Regions from separate parts of the Homo sapiens genome. Here regions 2 and 3 are each linked to region 1. Evidence: promoter capture Hi-C in 16 types of primary human blood cells and fetal thymus (Javierre and others, 2016). All regions are on one chromosome and are shown on one strand. Each heading gives the region's core, a stretch centred on a gene start or on the middle of the fragment in contact. The rest is flanking DNA. Distances are from core to core; before and after follow the strand shown. Region 1 holds the start of TCTN1 (tectonic family member 1). Region 2 has its middle 18 kb from the start of HVCN1. Region 3 holds the start of HVCN1 (hydrogen voltage gated channel 1).

The links. The method cuts DNA at HindIII sites, captures the fragments that hold promoters and counts their contacts. A CHiCAGO score of 5 or more calls a contact.
Region 2: a contact is called between a fragment that was not itself captured here and the fragment with the promoter of TCTN1 in region 1, in 2 of 17 cell types (total B cells and naive B cells). The highest score is 14.1, in total B cells.
Region 3: a contact is called between a fragment that was not itself captured here and the fragment with the promoter of TCTN1 in region 1, in 2 of 17 cell types (total B cells and naive B cells). The highest score is 10.8, in total B cells.

What each region holds. Positions count from the first base shown.
Region 1 is chr12:110,611,882-110,615,739 of GRCh38, forward strand. It overlaps TCTN1 (tectonic family member 1), which reads left to right and starts at 2,248. Exons shown (of 15, transcript NM_001082538.3): 1 at 2,248-2,521. The coding sequence starts at 2,302. RefSeq lists an enhancer at 2,525-2,574. The HindIII fragment of the contact is 6,908 bases long and covers 1-3,858 here.
Region 2 is chr12:110,705,459-110,709,316 of GRCh38, forward strand. It overlaps a transcript of PPP1CC not described here. Among named protein-coding and RNA genes, the nearest start is that of HVCN1, 18 kb to the left of the region's middle. The HindIII fragment of the contact is 2,049 bases long and covers 795-2,843 here.
Region 3 is chr12:110,687,746-110,691,603 of GRCh38, forward strand. It overlaps HVCN1 (hydrogen voltage gated channel 1), which reads right to left and starts at 1,370. Exons shown (of 8, transcript NM_032369.4): 1 at 1,335-1,370; 2 at 880-963. RefSeq lists enhancers at 1-268, 831-880, 2,131-2,180, 2,301-2,410, 2,941-3,090 and silencers at 1,061-1,560, 1,621-1,690. The HindIII fragment of the contact is 8,396 bases long and covers 1-3,858 here.

The DNA of each region.
Region 1 (3,858 bases), core at 998-3,497:
TGCAGCGGTGTGATCTCGACTCACTGCAACCTCTGCCTCCCAGGTTCAAGCAGTTATCCCGCCTCAGCCTCCTGAGTAGCTGGGACTACAGGTGCCCACCACCATGCTCAGCTAATTTTTGTATTTTTAGTAAAGACGGGGTTTCACCATGTTGGCCAGGGTGGTCTTGATCTCTTGACCTCGTGATCCACCCGCCTCAGCCTCCCAAAGTGCTGGGATTACAGGCGTGAGCCACCATGCCCGGCCTACTTTTGGTTATTTTTTTTAAAAGGGGAAGCATTTAATCAGTTATTAAAAGCAGTCCAGAATTTCAGTCAGATGCTAAAGCAATCCTTTGCAGAAAAAAAGAAGTATCTGTCTTACACATTTGAGTGATTCAATTATATTTTTATACACTGTCTCTGGAATGCCACAGGAAGGTGCTAAAGATATCACTTTGATGATTTAGTTTTGCTAAATACATTTAATAAACTAGATATATATACTGTTTGACATCCTTTTGAATTGGTATATACATTTCTTGAATAAATACTGTGTTATGTTTAAGGTTTTTTTGTTTTGGAGTGCAGTGGCACTATCATGGCTTACTGCAGCCTCAAGCTCTCCAGACTGAGGCGATCCTTCCACCTCAGCCTCCTGAGTAGCTGGGACTACAGGAATGTGCCACCATACCTGGCTAATTTTTGTATTTTTTGTAGAGATGTGGTTTCACCATGTTGCCCAGGCTGGTCTCAACTCCTGGACTCAAGCGATCCTCCCAAAGGGCTGGGAGTACAGGTGTGAGCCACTGTGCCTGGCCACGTCTAAGTACTTCGACATCTACTTCTGAACTGTATGGAGATTAAGTGTCAAAGGTGCAGCCAACATTCTTGGGCTTGGGTACCTCCTAAATAAGCCCATTCAGAATGGAGAGGGTTTCCTAAATCGTAGGGTCTCCAGGTCGTTTTGTAGCATTACAGTGGATTTGCTTTGTTTTCCCCTTTAAGATGTCTAAATTATTTTACTTAATTTTTGTAAAAGATTTTTGTCTTTAAATAGGTTCTTAGGCCTGGCGTGGTGGCTCATGCCTGTAATCCTAGCTCTTTGGGAGGCTGAGGCGGGAGGATCACTTGAGGCCAGGAGTTTGTGACTAGCCTGATCAACATAGTGAGACCCCCTCTCTACAAAAAATAATAAAAGGTATTAAGTGTTCATTTGTCCCCTTTATCACAATACAGCAGACAGAAGTTATCTGGCAACCTTGTGAGATGCAGCTAAAATAAAAAGGTGAAGCCAGTGTTGACAGAGTCTGGGATAGAGAAAATTCAGAGACAGTGATCTCACAGATCCCTGTGCTCCTTCCAAACACCCACGTTAGTGGCGTTGGGACGGCGCTTCCTAAATTTCCGTCCAACTCATCTGCTTGCGTCCGGACATTTGTTAAAAATATTTATTCCTGGCTGGGAGTGGTGGCTCACGCCTGTAATCCCAACTACTCAGGACTCAGGAGGCTGGAGCAGGTGGATCACTTGAACCAGGAGTTCGATACCAGTCCGGGCGACGGAGGGAGACCTCGTCTTTACAAAAAAAAAAAAAAAAAAAAAAAAATACAAAAATTAGCTGGGTATGGTGGCGCGCGCCTGAGTTCCCAGCTACTCAGGAGGCTGAAGTGGGAGGATTGCTTGAGTCCCAGAGGTCGAGGCTGCAGTGAGCCGAGATCGCGCTACTGCACTCCAGCCTGGGCGACAGAGTGAGACCCTGTCTCAAAAAAAATCCCCCAAAAACTGATTCCTGGGTCCTGCCCTAGACTAACTGACTCAGGATCTCCTGAGGTGGTACCTGGAAATCCGTCTTTTTTTTTTTTTTTTTTTTTTTTGGTTGAGACAGAGTGTCACACTGTCGCCCAGGCTGGAGTGCAGTGGCACGCTCACGGCTCTCTGTAGCCTTCACCTCCCGGGTTCAAGCGATTCTTCTGCCTCAGCCTCCCGAGTAGCTGGAACTACAGAAAATCTGCATTTTTTAAGCAAGCGCCGCGGACCGGTTGGAAACCACAGCCGGGATTTACACGCCCCTCGTTTACGCCAGCTTCACACCCGCTCACTAGTGCTCGCCCCTGTGCCTGCCATCGCTGCCTCACCCAGGCGCCGCCCTCCGGCCTCATCCGGGATCCGCCCCCTGCCTCATCCAGGCTTCGCCCCAGTCAGTCTCCGGCAGCTTCTCGCGGCTTCGCAAGCCCCTTCCCGTGATGCCCCGCGCCTGGCTGTCGCGGTTGCCGGGCAACGCGCTGTCCATGTCGCGGGCCTCGCTGGGACTCCCTGGGAGATGAGGCCGCGAGGTCTCCCGCCGCTCCTGGTGGTGCTCCTGGGCTGCTGGGCCTCCGTGAGCGCCCAGACCGATGCCACCCCGGCGGTGACGACAGAGGGCCTCAACTCCACCGAGGCAGCCCTGGCCACCTTCGGAACTTTCCCGTCGACCAGGCCCCCCGGGACTCCCAGGGCTCCAGGGCCCTCCTCCGGCCCCAGGCCTACCCCAGTCACGGACGGTGGGTACCATGTGCCAGCTCCTGGAGTCCACAGTGATCCAACCTCAAGGGGACAGCCCCGGTGAGGACGTAATAATGATAGCTAACTCTTATTGAGCACTTACTGTGTGCAGACACTGCTGAGTGTTCCATAAACGTCCATTCTCTAAACAATAACCCTGAGAAGTAGCTGTTACTATCACTGTCAGGTAAATGAGAAAACCGGGTCTCAGAGTTTAAGTGGAACGGTATCAAACCTTTGAAAATACTTGAAGTGGTCCCAGACAACAGTGATGCAAAGAGCAATAATGAATTCTTGCAGCCCAAGACGAAATTAAGTCGAGACAATGGTGGAAATTAGTGCCTTGGCTGCACTGAACTTTCACTTAAAGAGAGGCCAAAGGTCTATCTTACTAAATGTGACTATGTTAAGACCCTTCTCTGTTGACCTGAATTCTAAAAACCCAGGATTCCTCCTGTGTTGAATTGGAGGTGGAAAGCTATTGAGGGAGGGGTTATGCTCACTTCTTAGGAGTCATATGTAGGGATAATTAACATTTTTTTCAGAAAATGATTAATTCTAGAATTACACATTTAGTGGAAATATTTTATAATCTAATTTGACGTTTGGCTGGCGCCGTGGCTCACGCCTGTAATCCCAGCACTTTGGGAGGTCAACTCGGGTGGATTGCTTGAGGTAGGAGTTCAAGATCAGTCTGGTCAAAATGGCGAAACCCAGTCTCTACTAAAAATAGAAAAAATAGCCGGGCATGGTGTAATCCTAGCTACTCGGGAGGCTGAGGCAGGAGACTCGCTTGAACCCAGGAGGCAGAGGTTGCAGTAATTACCACTGCACTCCAGACTGGGCGACAGAGCAAGACTGTCTCAAAAAAAAAAATTGACATGGATGACTTCACTGAATGACTGTGACCCGCTAAGATTGAGTGCAAAACTTTGTGAATATGCCTTTTCCTGAGATGAGAGTTCATAGCAGCCGATTCTTAAAGTGGTTCATGATCTCAAAAAAAGTTTTTAAAATTTTCCGATTGTGTGAATTGAGAGTAACCCCAATAGATATGCAGTACTTTTAATCTTTTTTTATTCTTTTTTTGTTTTTGAGACAAGGTCTCGCTCTGTTACCCAGGCTGGAGTGCAGTGGCGTGATTATATCTCACTTAAGTCTCAATCTGCTGGGCTCAAGGGATCCTTCTGCCTCAGCCTCCAGAGTAGCTGGAACCACAGGCGTGCTCCCCCAGCTTGCTTTTTTTATTTTTTTATTTTTAGTAGAGATGAGATCTCGCTATGTTGTTCAGGCTGATCTCAAACTCCTGGGCTCAAGTGATCCTCCCACCTTGGCC
Region 2 (3,858 bases), core at 569-3,068, 93 kb after region 1:
GGAGGTTGAGGCTGCAGTGAGTCGTGATTGCACCACTGCACTCCAAGCCTGCGCAACAGAGCAAGACACTGTCTCAAAAAAAAAAAAAAAATTGTTTACAGTGCTTTTATGTTCATGGCAAAATTGAAAGGAAGGTACAGAGATTTCTCATATACCCTTTGCCCCCACTCCATGCATAGGAGTATTTGGATCTTTAAACCATGATTTACATGCTATAACATTTATTAAAAAATTAATTTAAAATGTTAAAATATGCTAAAAGAAAAGAAAAGAATCTGGGAGGCTGAGGTGGGAGGGTAGGAGGATCGCTTGACATCAAGGCTACCGTGAGCTGTGAGTGCACCAGGGCAATCCAGCCTGGGAGACAGAGTGAGACCCTGTTTCAAAAAGAACCAGTAATTGATTTGTTGACTGCATGAAATTACTTTCCTGGCTGGGCGCGGTGGCTCACGCCTGTAATCCCAGCACTTTGGGAGGCCGAGGCAGGTGGATCATGAGGTCAGGAGATCAAGACCATCCTGGCTAACACGGTGAAACCATGTCTCTACTAAAAACACAAAAAATTAGCCAGGCGTGATGGAGGGCGCCTGTAGTCCCAGCTACTCGGGAGGCTGAGGCAGGAGAATGGCATGAACCTGGGAGGCGGAGCTTGCAGTGAGCCGAGATCGTGCCACTGCACTCCAGCCTGGGTGACAGCGAGACTCTGCCTCAAAAAAAAAAAAAAAAAAAAAAAAAGGAAAAAAAGAAATTACTTTTCCTTCAGTTTCCTAGTTGGCTCTGTGTTACTTCTGGAAAGCTTGTGGATCTCTGTGGAACAGAATTTCCTAACTGTGCTTTTAGCAAACTATCAGCTACATGATGGTAGGGGGATGGAGTTCTTGTTTTGTTGTTACTGTGTTTTACACCTTTCATCAGTGCTACCTGGATTTGGTGGCAGGAAATAGTCAAACAATAAAAATAATACCTAATATTTGCTGCCTATTATGTGTCTGGGTTCTTTCCATGTACTAATTTATTTAGTCTCAGAGTAACCATTGATATAGATGCTGCTATCCCTATTTTTTTATTATTATTATACTTTAAGTTCTAGGGTACATGTGCACAATGTGCAGGTTTGTTACATAGGTATACATGTGCCATGTTGGCTTGCTGCACCCATCAACTCGACATTTACATTAGGTATTTCTCCTAATGCTATCCCTCCCCCAACCCCCCACCCCCCGACAGGCCCCTGTGTGTGATGTTCCCCACCCTGTGTCCATGTGTTCTCATTGTTCAACTCCCACTTACGAGTGAGAACATGCAATGTTTGGTTTTCTGTTCCTGTGTTAGTTTGTTGAGAATGATGGTTTCCAGATTCATCCATGTCCCTTCAAAGGACATGAACTCATCCTTTTTATGGCTGCATAGCATTCCATGGTGTATATGTGCCACATTTTCTTAATCCAGTCTATCATTGATGAACATTTGGGTTGGTTCCAAGTCTTTGCTATTGGGAGTAGTGCTGCAGTAAACATATGTGTGCATGTGTCTTTATAGTAGAATGATTTATAATCCTTTGGGTATATACCCAGTAATGGGATCACTGGGTCAAATGGTATTTCTAGTTCTAGATCCTTGAGGAATCGCCACACTGTCTTCCACAATGGATGAACTAATTTACAGTCCCACCAACAGTGTAAAAGTGTTCCTATTTCTCCACATCCTCTCCAGCACCTGTTGTTTCCTCACTTTTTAATGATCGCAATTCTAACTGGTGTGAGATGGTATCTCATTGTGGTTTTGATTTGCATTTCTCTGATGACCAGTGATGATGAGCATTTTTCATGCGTCTGTTGGCTGCACAAATGTCTTCTTTTGAGAAGTGTCTGTTCATATCCTTTGCTCACTTTTTGATGGGGTTTTTTCTTGTAAATTTAAGTTCTTTGTAGATTCTGGATATTAGCCCTTTGTCAGATGGGTAGATTGCAAAAATTTTCTCCCATTCTGTAGGTTGCCTGTTCACGCTGATATTTTATTTTGCTGTGCAGAAGCTCTTTAGTTTAATTAGATCCCATTTGTCTATTTTGGCTTTTTTTGTTGCCATTGTTTTTGGTGTTTTAGTCATGAAGTCTTTGCCCATGCCTATGTCCTGAATGGTATTGTCTAGGTTTTCTTCTAGGGTTTGTATGGTTTTAGATCTTACACTGAAATATTTAATCCATCTTGAGGTAATTTTTGTATAAGGTGTAAGGAAGGGATCCAGTTTCAGCTTTCTGCATATGGCTAGCCAGTTTTCCCAGCACCATTTATTAAATAGGGAATCCTTTTCCCATTTCTTGTTTTTGTCAGGTTTGTCAAAGGTCAGATGGTTGTAAATGTGTGGTGTTATTTCTGAGGCCTCTGTTCTGTTCCATTGGTCTATATATCTGTTTTGGTACCAGTACCATGCTGTTTTGGTTACTATAACCTTGTAGCATAGCTTGAAGTCAGATGCTGCTATCCCTGTTTTACAAGGGAAGCACTGAGGCACAGGGAGATTAAGGGATTTGCCCAAGGTCACACACAACCAGAATGCAAGAGTCAGGATTCCCACCTGGGCCACTGGCTGCAAACCCCAGGCTTTAACCACTGCCCAGTATGGCCTCTCAAGAGAAGCAACAGCTTCCAGAAGCTGCCCCTGTGGGCTTCTGTAGACTGGGGTGCCAGTGTAACTAGCTACATGAATCCACCAACTCACTACAGAAAGGGGTACCCTGCTTCTGTAACAGCTAGGTTGAGCTGCATAGTTTGCAGAAAACCTTAGTATAGTTTTGAGTTAGTTTCCTACTTCTTTACAACAATTGGCTCTTAAAGGAATAGAAAGCTTAAATGGAATCTCACCCATCTATCTATATTGTTTAGAAACTATTAGCAACTCAGAAAGTTCTCTCATGGCTGAAAGATATATATGACTCCAATGTTTATTCATCAAAACAAACACATGCACAATGAAAATATTACAGTTATTACCAATGGGATCTCCATTACTCTTGGCAAAACAATTTTCTCCTGAGAATTCACAACCAGGATCTGCAGGTTTGTGGCCTAATTTCATGAGACTTGTATGATCTGAAAAATGTCAAGTGGGTCTGGGCATGGTGGCTTACACCTGTAATCCCAGCACTTTGGGAGGCCAAGGTAGGCAGATTACTTGAGGTCAGGAGCTCGAGAACAGCTTGGCCAACATGGTGAAACCCCGCCTTTACTAAAAGTACAAAAATTAGCCGGGCATGGTGGCAGACACCTGTAAATCCTGCTACTTGGGAGGCTGAGACAGGAAAATTGCTTGAATCTGGGGTGGAGGTTGCAGTCAGTGAGCTGAGATCGCACCACTGCACTCCAGCTTGGGTGACAGAGCGAGAGTCCATCTCAAAAAAAAAAAAAAAAAAGAAAAGAAAAGAAAAATGTCAAGTGAGCAAGTGAGGATTTAAAGTCTAGGTTGATACTGCCCCAGTCTACCAGCAGAGGCAAACTCTGATCTTCTCTGGAGGAGCTCAACTTCAATTCAGGCCGCAGAGAATCCCATGGATAAAGATGTGAAGAAAATGGGCAACTCTGTCAAAAAATCACAACACACACAGAGAAACAACTATGAGGAACAATAGAAACAACAGATGATAGAAACATTCAGAAGAATGGCAAAACCCCCCACAAAAACACACAAATGATAGATACAAACCCACAAACACTTCAGATATTGGAATAATCAGATAGAACATAAAATAACCATGTTTATTATATTTAGAGAAATAAAACTTTTTTTTTTTTGAGACAGAGTCTCCCTCTGTTGCCCAGGCTGGAGTGCAGTATCGCGATCCCGGCTGACTACAACCTCCA
Region 3 (3,858 bases), core at 663-3,162, 76 kb after region 1:
GTGGTGGATGACAGCTCCCAGGGCCCAAGCCCCAATGACTAGCAAAGGATCAAGTCTGGGGACAAGAACACTCTGGCTTTCTCCTTCTTGCTAAACCTGTGTCGGGGAGGGCAGGGGCCACAGAGCAGCTCTGGACCTTGTGCAAGCCTCAGCCCAGAGATTTTCAAAACCCTGCCCTTATCAGCCTTTCCCTCTGGGGAGTCAGCCAGAGAAGTTGCCACCCCCTCACCTTGGTCTTACTCAAGCAGCTCCTAGTTGCTGGTGGGGCTGTCCGGAAATCCTGCAGATCTCAGATAGCCCTGAACAACCTGAAGTTAAAGGTGCCCAGGACAGAGAAGTACTCTCAGAGGGGCAGGACGGAGGGTGGAGGAAGCACTGGAACCATGAACTTTTGGTAGTAACCTGGTGCCAGGGGCTAAGCCTGTACACCAAGCATCTTATATCATCTTCTCAGCAATCCTGCGAGGTAGGTACATGCTTAACCTCATGGGACAGATGCGGAAACTGAGGCAGAGACAGGCCAAGTCACGAAGCTGAGCCTGCAAGATCCCCCACACCCAGCACTGGTAAAAGTGGTGGGGGCAATGTTGGAGGGAGTTCCACTGAGGAACTGCTCTCCCCTCTCTGTCTTGGCGTTTACCCTGGCCCCAATCACTCTTGTTCCTCAGCATCTCTGTCTCCAACAGGTGGGTGCTTTTAAAGTGTTTCTAGGGAAGAGTTTGCTTCCCCGGGGCTCCTCCTTCAGGGATGGCTGGGCCTGCTCATTGCAGCCTTCTCCCGGGACATCCAGCACTGCCTCTGCCCCTGCTTCTCTCCTACAATCTCCCGGGAGGGCAGCGGGGCAGGGACGATGCATCCGAGGACTTAGGGGACACAGACCTGGTTGTGAGTTCTGGCTCTGCCTCCTTTGGCTGTGTGACCCAAGGCAAGGGGCTTGGCCTCTCTGCGTCTTGGTTTCTTCACCTGTTAAGAGGGAGACGACGATGGTCACCTGTGGCTGCTGCGCGGAGTGTGAAGAACTGAAGGCACCTGGCCCAGGGCGGCGCGCACCACCAACTCTCCGGGATCGGGGGGTCACTAGGGCCAGCGTCTCCCGCGTTCCCCTCCCCTGGACTCCAGTCCCTGCCGAGGGGAAGCACTGCCCGCCCGCGCCGGGACACGCCAGAGCCGAGGGCAACCGAGGGCTGGGGTCCTGCTGGGGCTCCACGGCGAGGCCTGGACAGCGGAGATGCGGGGGGGGGTCCCCTCTTCTCGGAAGGATCGGGCACTGGGGGTCTTGTAGAAAGGGCTGCACGCCAAACGGGGTACGCCCCCCGCCCGGCCCGAGCACTTACCCGGCGCCCCACCCGCCCGCGGTCACCGCTGCGACTGGGAGCCTCAGAGCAGGTCCGGCCCAGCCCGTCCCGCCCCGTACCGTACCAGGCCCCGCCCCCGCCCGGGCCGCCCCCGCCCCCGTCCCCGCCCCCACAGCCCGCAGACCCCCAACGGTCGGCGGGCTTCTAGGCCTCGGCCCGGGTCTTAGTCCCCTTGTCCCTGCCTGTGGTCAGTCCACCCGTTCGTCCCTACCTCCCTCACCCCGGCTGCCTCCCGCCCCGCAGGGTGGGCCTGTCCTGGGCCTCCCGCAGTTACAAAGGTCCCGCCCGTGGGAGCGAATCGCGGATCACAAAAATCCTGCCCCGGGCCAGCCTAAGGGAAGGGTGGGCGGGGGAACCACTTCCTTCCTCCGCCGGCTGGAGCGGGGCGAATCCACCCCGCCAACCCCTTTCGGGGAGCTTCTGCTCCATCCCACCGTCTCCGGGCCACCCCTGCCTCTGGGTCTCCTGATTCCTTGGCCTCGTCCCCTGCACAGTTTCTGCCATGCAGGGGTGGAGGGTGGGCAGCACGCTCTGACGAATGAGCAACCTCTCAGCCCTCAGAACTTCCCTTGGTCGAGGGCTCTGAGGCTGCTCATGGGATGGTACTGGCAAGAGGGAGCCTTACCGCGTGCAGCCCCTGCCTGTCCTGGGCCGCCTTGCTCCGGGCCAACTCGTACGGCCCCGCAGGCGCAGGCCCAGCTCTGAAGTCCCTCCCCTGTGGGCCCTCCCAGCACCCTGTTCACACAGTCGAATCAGTTCTGTTAGCTTCTGTCTTCCCCCAGAGACCATTTGTCCCAAACATCCTGCAAAGCCGTCTTCTGCACACCTCTCCCTTCCGGTTGAGTCGGGGCTGTGGGGAGAGGCTCACCTCCTTGGGGTTGTGTTAGTTTCCTCATGCCGCTGTTAACAGATCACCACAAACCTAGTGGCTTAACACAAATGTGTTATCTTACAGCCCTGGAGGCCAGAAGTCTCAGATGGGTCCTACAGGGCCAGAATCAAGGTGTGGGTGGGGCTGTGCCTTCTGGAGGCGCCAGGGTAGTGTGTTCCTTGCTTTTCCCGGCTGGAGAGGTGCCTGTGATCCTTGGCTGTCTCAATCCGACCTCTGCCTCCATGGTCACAGCGTCTTCTCCCTTCTAAGGAGCCCTGTGATTATATGGGATCCACCTGGATAATCCAGGCTAATCTCTCCAGCTCAGGATCCTTCACATAGCCACATGTGCAAAGTCCCCTTTGCCACTTAAGGCAACATACAGGTTTGGAGGGGTTAGGATGTGGATATCTTGGTAGGGGGGTGCATTCTTCTGCCTCCCATAGGGGTATTGTCTGCTTCAACTGACTCGGCTTTCCCCAATTCTGCTGGGCAGCTGGCTTTCTTTTCTTTTTTCTTTTTTTTGGAACGGAGTCTCACTGTCGTCCAGCCTGGAGTGCAGTGGTGCGATCTTGGCTTACTGCAACCTCCGCCTCCTGGGTTCAAGCAATTCTCCTGCCTCAAGCCTCCCGAGTAGCTATGATTACAGGCCAGCATCACCATGCCTGACTAATTTTTGTATTTTTAGTAGAGACGGGGTTTTACCATGTGGGTCAGACTGGTCTCGAACTCCTGACCTCAAGTGATCTGCCTGCCTTGGCCTCCGAAGGTGCTGGGATTACAGGTGTGAGCCACTCCACCCGGCAACAGTCTCACTCTGTGGCCCAGGCTGGGGTGCAATGGCATGATCTTGGCTCAGTGCAACCTCTGCCTCCTGAGTTCAAGCAATTCTCCTGCCTCAGCTTCCTGAGTAGCTGGGATTACAGGTGCCTGCCACCACGCCTGGCTAATTTTTGTTTTTTTAGTAGAGACAGGGTTTCTCCATGCTGGTCAGGCTGGTCTCGAACTTCTGACCTCAAGTGATCCGCCTGCCTCGGCCTCCCAAAGTGCTGGGATTACAGGCGTGAAACACCATGCCTGGACTGCAGCAGGCTTTCTTTTTTCTTTTTGAGGTGGAGTCGCGCTCTGTCACCCAGGCTGGAGTGCAGTGGCGCGACCTCGGCTCACTGCAAGCTCCGCCTCCCAGGTTCATGCCATTCTCCTGCCCCAGCCTCCTGAGTAGCTGGGACTACAGGCGCCCGCCACCACGCTCGGTTAAATGTTTTGTATTTTTAGTAGAGACGGGGTTTCACCGTGTTAACCAGGATGGTCTCGATCTCCTGACCTCGTGCTCCGTCCTCCTCGGCCTCCCAAAGTGCTGGGATTACAGGCGTGAGCCACCGCGTCTGGCCAGAAGGCTTTCTTAAAAACATTTTGGTCAGATCTCCTGACTTCTCAGTCATGTATTATTACAACAGCCCCATGCCAGTTTCTAAGGCATAGTCTGGTCCATTTTCAACTTCAACTTCCTTATATTTTATTAAAAATTCTCCTCCTCCCCCAGGGCCAGCTAGACAGAGTGGAGAGGATGTGGGGACTGCTCCCAACAGCCCCTCCTCTGTGTTCACTCCCCTCTGGTTGAGGAAGGGAAAA